2 separate regions of the Homo sapiens genome follow, and region 2 is linked to region 1. Evidence: promoter capture Hi-C in 16 types of primary human blood cells and fetal thymus (Javierre and others, 2016). All regions are on one chromosome and are shown on one strand. Each heading gives the region's core, a stretch centred on a gene start or on the middle of the fragment in contact. The rest is flanking DNA. Distances are from core to core; before and after follow the strand shown. Region 1 holds the start of EGR4 (early growth response 4). Region 2 overlaps DUSP11 (dual specificity phosphatase 11).

Region 1 (4,867 bases), core at 852-3,351:
GCCATTTAGTAAGACACACTGCAAGTGCATGACCCTGTGAGAACCTTTATATGATTTGTGGACTTCAGGAGAAGATGCATACAAGTGTGTCAGCATATGTTTTGCAGGTGATTGTGTGAAGGGACATATTCTGTGAAAACACTTAATAAGGTCACTGTGGGATGAGGAGTGGGCACCTAGTGCTGGAGATGGGGCTCAGGGTCCCAGCAGACATAAAACCAAAGTCTACCTTCTGGCCTGTAATAGGCACTTAAGAAATGAATACTGAATGAATGAACATTGAGAAACTGAATGGATGTTTGGATAATGGACATAGGGTGAAAGGACTGAGAATGTGGTGGGGTTTGGGCATTCTTGGGCTCTCTCTCTCTCTCTTGAAAAAGAGGGTACAGGGGTGGAAGAGAGGCTGGGAGCTATACTGCCCATGATGCTGAGTCCACCACCCCCAAAGGGCTTTGTTTCTATTTCAAAAAAGGAGAGAAGGAAGGAGGAGCCCTAAACCTGCCCACCTTACCCTCCAGCACACAGAGTCTCAGGAATTGATGCTCTTCATAAAGAAGAACATGCTATTCCATGTATTTATTTAATCCTTCCCCCCCATGTATTTATTTAATTTGGTTCCAGAAAGGAGTTAAGTGAGCTATAATACAAAATAAAATAAACATTTTAAAAAGAATGAGAGAATGAGACAGAGGGAAAACCACAGCAGAAGAGAGATGAGACTAGGAGAGTAGGCAAGCTTCTTTGCTGGAGTTGGCTCTGATGCTTCTGCAGCCAAGATTCACAGCCTCCTTAAGGCTAGGATTTTTTTTTTTTTTCTCAAAAGAAGCCCAATTATTTCAAGTACTGATTCCAGGGAGATATTTCCCACGGATTCCCTGTGTGTTGCTGGGATCAACATCCTTAGAGCGAAAGCCATTTGTATGAAGGCAGAAAAAATGTTCTGCAGAAGCATCTCATACCCTGTGGGTGAGGGAGGAGTGAGCAGGAATTGGCCCTACTTTTCTGGAAGACAATTTGCCAGTTGTCTATCAAAATTTTACATATACTTTGGCACACAATTACACTCGTTGGAATTTATCTCACAGACACATTCACATTTATATAGTCAAGGATGTTGACTCCAACAACATTGGTATAAGTAAAAAGTTGGAAACTGCCTACATGCTCATGGATAGGGGACAAATCGACTAACTCAAGGTCCTCCCTTACAATGGAGTACTATACAGCCTTGAAAAAGAATGACAAGATCTTTATGTCAGGACATGGCACAATCTCTAAGTTATTTCAAGTGAAAAAATAATAATAATAATAATATTGCAGAACAATGTGTATGGTTGGATATACATAAAATTCTTCTGAAAGAATACCCAAGAAACTTAAATGTGGCTACCTCAGGAGCTAGGAATGAAGGTAGGTGGAGAGGAGGGACTTTTACTTTTCAATTTAGAATATACCCTGTTGTGCTAGTTGACTTTCCTCCTACTGTTAACAAGTATTACAGTCCTTTTTAATTTAAATTATTTTTCCTAGCACAAATTTAAAAAAAAAAAACTTAAAATGGAAAAACACACAGGCGTGAGCAAAAGAAATGAATGGCAATAATCTCTGTGGTTTACTGAGTGCGCCTGGACATTTATGTGCTCTCAGTTTCTCTCCACAGGAAATGCACAGGTGAGAAACTGACGTTAAGGGGGACTGAGTGTCAAGCTAGTTAGTGGCAGAGGGCAGATTCAAACCCAACACGGTCCTCCCCTGCTGCCCCTCGGCCTCTGCCTCCAGGTGGGAAGCGCATCTACCGGACGGTCGGCCCGGTGAGGCGCAGCGCCCCAGACTGGCGCATCCGCGGCCCCAGCGCTCCACGCCTGGGGAGCGCGCGCGCACGCAGCGGCGCGAGCCTGGCGGCGGCGGCGACAACAACAACGTCACAGCTCGAGCTTTCCTTTTCGGGAGTCCCCGGCACACATCCTGTGTCCATGTTTGGGCATTTACGTCACGGCGGCAGGGCCGGGGCCTCCCAAAATGGCAGTGGCCCGGGGAGTCGGAAGCCCGGAGCCAGCGCCGCCGCAGCTATATAAGTGGGGGGGCTGTGGGCTGGGGGAGCCCGGCAGCGCTTTGGAGAGGCGAGGAGCCGCCGCCCGAGGCCGGTGCGGGCGAGCGAGGGCGCCGCGGCTCCCCGACTCCTTTCCCAGAGGTGAGTGCCCGAAGCCAGGAGCCCGGGCGCCTAGGTCTGTGCGCTGCGGGGAACCCCTACCGCCAGCCTCCCCGCCACCCGCGCGCCCCCAAGCCCAGCGGGCGAGGCCCCGGGCGCCCCACAGCCGGCGCCGCGCCATGCTCCACCTTAGCGAGTTTTCCGAACCCGACGCGCTCCTCGTCAAGTCCACTGAAGGCTGTTGCGCCGAACCCAGCGCTGAATTGCCCCGGCTGCCTGCCAGGGACGCTCCCGCGGCCACCGGCTACCCTGGAGGTAAGGAGGGCGAGCAGGGGTGCTCAGACGACGACGGCGCAGCGCGGGGGCGCACCATACCTGAGAACCAGGAGGGACTGGGACATTGGAGCTATGAGAATAGGGGCGATGGGAAGCTTAGGAGTCCTGGGGTGCGCACCCCCATTCCCACCCACACTGGGCCGCCAGCGCCTCCGCAGGAACCTGTGCGGTTATCGGAGCGCCCTTTTGCCTGTGCACGTGTGTTTTGCGTGTGCATGTTTCTATGTGCTCCTTGGGACGTATGCGGGCCCCTGCTGAATCAGAATGTGCAAAAGGCACTTTGTGTATATCCGTGGGCACCAAGAGTTTTGTAGGTAGGGGCTGTGGACTCAGGTGCACCCTTTGATGTGCCCAGAGCTGATTCCTGCTCCCTCCTCAGCAGGCGACTTCTTGAGCTGGGCTTTGAACAGCTGCGGCGCAAGTGGGGACTTAGCCGACTCCTGCTTCCTGGAGGGGCCTGCGCCCACACCCCCTCCCGGCCTCAGCTACAGCGGTAGCTTCTTCATTCAGGCAGTGCCCGAACACCCGCACGACCCGGAGGCACTCTTCAACCTCATGTCGGGCATCTTAGGCCTGGCACCCTTCCCCGGTCCAGAGGCAGCAGCGTCCAGATCCCCGCTGGATGCCCCTTTTCCTGCGGGGTCCGATGCCTTGCTGCCGGGTCCGCCGGACCTTTACTCCCCGGATCTGGGCGCTGCCCCTTTCCCAGAGGCGTTCTGGGAGGCCTCGCCTTGCGCGGGTGCCCCCTCGCAGTGCCTGTATGAGCCTCAGCTCTCCCCGCCCGACGTCAAGCCCGGCCTCCGGGCGCCTCCCGCCTCGCCAGCGCTGGACGCTGTCTCTGCCTTCAAGGGTCCCTACGCGCCCTGGGAGCTGCTTTCTGTGGGGGCCCCAGGGAACTGTGGGTCACAGGGAGACTACCAGGCCGCCCCGGAGGCTCGTTTTCCCGTAATAGGGACCAAGATTGAGGACTTGCTGTCCATCAGCTGCCCTGCGGAACTGCCGGCCGTCCCAGCCAACAGACTCTATCCCAGCGGGGCCTATGACGCTTTCCCGCTGGCCCCGGGTGACTTAGGGGAGGGGGCTGAGGGCCTCCCTGGGCTCCTGACCCCTCCTAGTGGGGAGGGAGGGAGTAGCGGCGACGGCGGAGAGTTTCTGGCCAGTACGCAGCCTCAGCTTTCCCCGCTGGGCCTTCGCAGCGCCGCCGCGGCGGACTTCCCTAAACCTCTGGTGGCGGACATCCCTGGAAGCAGTGGCGTGGCTGCACCACCCGTGCCGCCGCCGCCGCCCACCCCTTTCCCCCAGGCCAAGGCGCGACGCAAGGGGCGCCGCGGCGGCAAATGCAGCACGCGCTGCTTCTGCCCGCGGCCGCACGCCAAGGCCTTCGCTTGCCCGGTGGAGAGTTGTGTGCGGAGCTTTGCGCGCTCCGACGAGCTCAATCGCCACCTGCGCATCCACACGGGCCACAAACCCTTCCAGTGCCGCATCTGCCTCCGCAACTTCAGCCGCAGCGACCACCTCACCACGCACGTGCGCACCCACACCGGCGAGAAGCCTTTTGCTTGCGACGTGTGCGGCCGCCGCTTCGCGCGCAGCGATGAGAAGAAACGGCACAGCAAGGTGCACCTCAAGCAGAAGGCGCGCGCCGAGGAGCGGCTCAAGGGCCTCGGCTTTTACTCGCTGGGCCTCTCCTTCGCTTCTCTCTGAGCAAGAGATGGGTTTATGGGTTGGGGCGCCGCCGTTCGGCGCGCACGAGTTCCGGGCCGTTCCCCTCCCCGCTCTTCTTCCAACTCCTCCTCGCACGCCCGAGGGCCGGCCTCCGGTCCCGCTTCCAGTTTCCTTGAAGCGCCCGCCGCACACGCCCTATTCAGCACCAGCTCCGCGGACAGTTCCCGCGGTCCAGGCGCTGTCACCCTTGTCAGCCGCGCTTTGGGGGAAGTCTTCTGAGACCACCCAGTGAATAGGCACTACCCTGGGATTCAAGACAGTCTTTTGTAACTGGCACACGCCCCACGCCTTCCTCTATAACCCCCAGAGACAGGCTGGGGCAGCGCCAAGGCGGTCTCGCGCGGGACTTTGTACAGCAGTGTCTTATCCAGCAGCCATTGGATGTAACGTTTTGCTTTGGGTTTTTTTTCCTTTTGTTGTTGTTAATTTTTGTAAAGCAGACGCTACTCTCAAGCAGTTGACAAAACTGTTTATTTTTGCAATTAAAATTATTGTGCTAAAAGCTTACTGAATCTGCCATGTAAGCTCCTGACCCTTCCCCTTAGCTTCTCCCCCAGGACCATATGTGCCAGAAGATAAAGGAGATCCCCACGCTCATGGGATACAGACCCTGAACATATTACACACCCACTGTCAGGCACACCTGCCAGGAAC
Region 2 (4,954 bases), core at 137-2,636, 490 kb before region 1:
CGCTTTTGGCCGACTTGGCATTGGGTGGGCGGCTTCTTGGGACCCACATGAGCCAGTGGCATCATCCCCGCAGTGGCTGGGGCCGGAGACGCGACTTTTCAGGACGCTCCTCAGCCAAGAAGAAGGGCGGAAACCACATCCCCGAAAGGTAGTATGTCTTGGTCCCTTGGCGTGGCCTTTCCAGCTCGTGGCTTCTGGGTCTGGGCTTCATCGTTTGTGGTCTCTGCCTCTCGCCGTTGCCATCGCAAGCTTGACTTGTCCGCCGCTTGCTTTGAGGCTTTGACCCTCTGCGCCACCCGCTGTAGCTGAAAGGGGCGATGTCTGTGATGTCCTGTGATTTCTCCATATTCTTGTAAAAGGGAGGTTCTGGCCATTGCTCTTAGGTAAAATACGGAAGGATTGCTTTAAGGTGGGACTGTTACTGTTGGGGACACTCCTTAATTCCCAAAATGGAACCTCCTCAATTCCTTGTTACGTTGGCACGGAAAGTGTAATGGTTTGAGTTAGGAACCCAGCAGTAGTAGCGCCCTGAGATCTCACATGGAAAGTTGGTTTGTATTGTTTCCAGAAATCACAAAGAGCATACTTTGTTACTTCCTAACAGGCCTCATTTGAAAGATAACTCCTTTATACGTACAAATGATTAATTTTGAGACTTTGCACGTAGGTGCATTGAACTGTTTTTACTCCTTGAGACCATCCTCCACCATCTCATACCTCAATAAATCCTCTTCATTTTATCTACTATCTTTTGACTGTCACTTTCTGTCAGTACCCTAATACAGGTCTTGCCTGACTTATTGCAGTGGGGTTCTAATTAGTGAATCTCCTGTTTGTTTTCTTCCAATCCGTTTTTTTGTTTTTGTTTTTGGGATGGATTTTTGCTCTTCTCCGCCAGGCTGGAGTGCAATGGTCCAATCTCGGCTCACTGCAACCTCCGCCTCCCGGATTCAAGCGATTCTCCTCCCTCAGCCGCCCAAGTTGCTGGGATTACAGGCGCCCGCCACCACACCCGGCTAATTTTTTTTGTATTTTTAGTAGAGATGGGGTTTCACCATGTGGGTCAGGCTGGTCTCGAACTCCTGACCTCAGGTGATCCACCTGCCTCAGCCTCCCAAATTGCCGGGATTAACAGACGTGAGCCACCGCGCCCGGCCAGTTCCTAGCATTATTAAGTGAAGTTCACAGTCCCTCTTCTAGCAGGTTTTCTCTTAAAATATGAACTTGAAGTTTCCTACTAATTGAACTTTATGGCATCAGTCGTATGAAAACTAAAAGCGTGAAGTGAAATAATTGAATTTAAATTATTTCAGTGAATATGTTTGTATTAATGGCACTTTAGTATCTGGTACTGGGCCAAGTTTAACAGGGATACAGAAGTTCTGGGTATCTCCGGTTTTATATAGGCCTTATTTGAGTTGTACTGTTGTGTTGGCTTGTGTTCGTTTTTATGATGGGGAAACAGGAGAGAAGGACGGTATAGGTCGTTACTTGGTGGGGTTTAATAAGTGGAGTGGCGAAATGCAAAGCAGAGAGGAGAGAGGACATGTTGTGCGGGCTATGATTCCCATTTTCAAAAAGTCTTATTTTGTGCAAGGAAACAAGGCTAACATACAATTTGGCTAACAAAAAATATATCTAATAGGTGGAAAGACTATCTCCCAGTTGGACAGCGGATGCCTGGGACTCGTTTCATTGCTTTCAAAGTTCCTTTGCAAAAGGTAAGCAAAAGTTAATTCAGTATTCTTTCAGGCATCTGAGTTCACCATGCAGAACACTGCTCTCCACTCTATCACATTCCATTTTCTCTTTTTATAGCAAATACTTTGTAATGACCCCTTTACTATCCTGAAATGAAGTTCATAGGTACATACAACCTACTTCATATTTTAAACAAAAATACCAATTAACACCCTAACTATAATATAAAAAATAAAATAAAAGTAATTTATAATAAAATAATATTTATTTCAATATATAAATGTTTGGACATGACTACATTAAAAGACATAGAGTAATAGTTGCCTGCGCCATGAATTCAAGAATTACAAATGTAGACTGATCTAGGTGGGTTGTATTGCTTTAGTGGTAGGAGTTTCTGTAATAGATTTCCAAATATAACAAAGTATAATCTTCATTTGGTTGATAAGGTGATTATTATCCTGGAAAATTCAATATATATTAGTATTGTACAAAAAATACTTTGTGTTTATTTGTGAAATGGAGTTAGGTTCTGAGGCCAAGCTAAATATGAACAGCTTTTTATCTATATTAATCTTGAATAGGACATCCAAAAGCCATTCAGGATGTGGGACACATTTGTAGGACTGTCCTGAATTTGGCAAGTTGTTTAGAATTTGTAACCCTTACCCACTGAATGCCAGTGGGACTCCTTTCCTTCCATGGTCACAATCAGAAATATCCCCCGGATCATCAAGGTCAGGATTTCAGTGGGGAAAATCTGAAGATTGTATTTTTGTTTAAACTAGGAAAGGAATAGGAGGGATAGGAGGGGAAAGCTTTTGACAGCCATAAAAAAGATGAGAAGGTGAAGACAAATAATTGTTTTCTAGATTCCATGTCTTTCTTATTAGACTTCCCCAGCATAGCTCAGATTAGTATCAGGAGAAGCCTACTTGAAACGTTTTGGGAATTTACTTAATTTGTGACTTATAGATCAGATTTCCTTTTTCAACTGCTGTGTCAGCTTCTCTGCATGTCTGGGCTTAAAAATGAGTCATTTCAGGCCAGGCCTGTTGGATCATGTTTGTAATCCAGTACTTTGGGAGGCAAGGTGGGTGTATCGCTTGAGTCCAGGAGTTTTAGACCAGCCTGGGCAACACTGAAACCGTGTCTCTACAAAAAATACAAAAATTAACCAGGCGCGGTGGCGTGTGCTTGTAGTCTCAGCTGCTCAGGAGGCTGAAGTGGGAGGATCGATTGAACCCAGGAGGTCAAGGCTGCAGTGAGCCATGATCATGCCACTGTACTCCAGCCTGGGCAACAGAGCAAGACCCTGTCTCCAAAAAGAAGGTGTTGGAGACACAGGGAATTTTTAGGGAAGTGAAACTATTCTGTGTGATACTCTAAGGGTGGATACATGTTATATATTGATCAAAACCTATAAAAGGGCTTCACGTATATTAACACATTTCACAACAATCCTGTGCTGATGAAGTAGCAGTAGTACTAATATCTCTTACTGAGTGCTTATTCTGCACTAAGCTCAGAGAATAGATGGTTACATCTAATAAATAATTTTGTAGATAATCAAACAGGCTCAGAAAAGGAAGAATCAAAACTTGAACTTAGTTCTTTCTCTCATTTTTTTTGTGGCAAAATATATATAACATAATATGTACATACAATGCATAACATAGAATGAATCACGCATACCTAACCTCTAGACTTTGGTGATAACGATGTGTCAGAGTTGGTTCTTCATTTGTAACAAATGGACCACACTGGTATGGAATGTGGATAGTGGGGGAGTCTGGGTGGGTTGGGGAAGGCAAAGTACATGTGGGAACTATCTGTCCTTTTGGCTCAGTTTTGCTGTGAACCTAAAACTGCTCTGAAAACTAGTCTATTTTTTTTTTTTTTTTTTTGAGATGGTGTCTCGCTTGTCGCCCAGGCTGGAGTGCAGTGGTGTGATCTTGGTTCACTGCAAGCTCTGCCTCCTGGGTTCACGCCATTCTCCTGCCTCTGCCTCCTGAGTAGCTGGAACTACCGGCGCCTGCCACCACGCCTGGCTAATTTTTTTGTGTTTTTAGTAGAGATGGGGTTTCACCGTGTTAGCCAGGATGGTCTCGATCTCCTGACCTCGTGATCCTCCTGCCTCGGCCTCCCAAAGTGCTGGGATTACAGGCTTGAGCCACCGCACCCAGCCAAACTAGTCTATTTTTTAAAAAGTACATTGCTGGCACCTGAGTAGCCAGACAGATTGAAGGAACAGAGCATAAAGTTCAAAAATAAGCCACATACATAAAAGAATATTCAGCAATGAAAGCCATCCTTCATATATGTAGACATGTGAGAAATATTTATTTGTGAGGCCGAGACAGGAGGGTTGCTTGAGCTCAGGAGTTTGAGATCAGCCTGGGCTACATGGCAAGACGGCAAGACCCTATCTCTTTTTTTTTTTTTTTTTTTTTTTTAAATTTTTTTTTTGAGATGGAGTCACTCTGTCACCCAGGCTGGAGTGCAGTGGTGTGATCTCGGCTCACTGCAAGCTCTGCCTCCCGGGTTCACGCCATTCTCCTGCCTCAGCCTCCCGGTAGCTGGGACTACAGGCGCCTGCCACCACCCCTGGCTAATTTTTTGTATTTTTAGTAGAGACGGGGTTTCACAGTGTTAGCCAGGATGGTCTCGATCTCCTGACCTTGTGATCCTCCCGCCTTGGCCTCCCAAAGTGCTGGGATTACAGGTGTGAACCACTGCGCCCAGCTGACCCTATCTCTTTAAAAAAAAAAAAAAAAGGCCAGGTGTGGTGGTTCATGCCTGTAGTCCCAGCTACTTGTGAGGTTGAGGTGGGAGTATTGCTTGAGCCCAGGAGGTGGAGGCTGCAGTGAGCCATGTTTGTGTCACTGCACTCCAGCCTGGATGACGGATGACAGAGCAACACCCTGTTTCAAAAAAAAAAAAAAAAAAAGAAAAGAAATATTTATAAGCACTAAATATGATAAGCACTCCACCTGGAGCTGGAGATACAGTGGTGAATAAAATCTGGGAGATTACAGTCTGATTAGGAGACCAACATGAAACAAATACAGAAATACATATATAGAAGTGGGCTTATTTTTTTCTTTCTGACCACTCTGGAAGAAAGGATTGTTGTAATATACCTTCTATGTTCCAGGAGAATGGAAACTTTCCTTTGAATCTCGTTGTATGTTAGCATCACAGGACTTGAATAAATGCCTAATGTAGTACAGGATTTTAAGCACATATTTGC

Evidence for each region. Contacts are between HindIII fragments. The CHiCAGO score rates a contact against its expected background, and 5 or more counts as called.
Region 2: a fragment that was not itself captured here is called in contact with the fragment with the promoter of EGR4 in region 1 in 1 of 17 cell types (fetal thymus); the score reaches 5.4 in fetal thymus.

Annotation. Positions count from the first base shown.
Region 1 is chr2:73,290,782-73,295,648 of GRCh38, reverse strand. It overlaps EGR4 (early growth response 4), which reads left to right and starts at 2,101. Exons shown (of 2, transcript NM_001965.4): 1 at 2,101-2,467; 2 at 2,868-4,720. The coding sequence starts at 2,332. The coding sequence ends at 4,192. RefSeq lists a silencer at 1,739-1,818 and an enhancer at 3,815-4,510. The HindIII fragment of the contact is 1,844 bases long and covers 742-2,585 here.
Region 2 is chr2:73,775,068-73,780,021 of GRCh38, reverse strand. It overlaps DUSP11 (dual specificity phosphatase 11), which reads left to right. Exons shown (of 9, transcript NM_003584.3): 1 at 1-148; 2 at 1,646-1,721. The coding sequence starts at 48. Among named protein-coding and RNA genes, the nearest start is that of DUSP11, 2.6 kb to the left of the region's middle. RefSeq lists enhancers at 1-17, 98-147, 278-427. The HindIII fragment of the contact is 2,270 bases long and covers 252-2,521 here.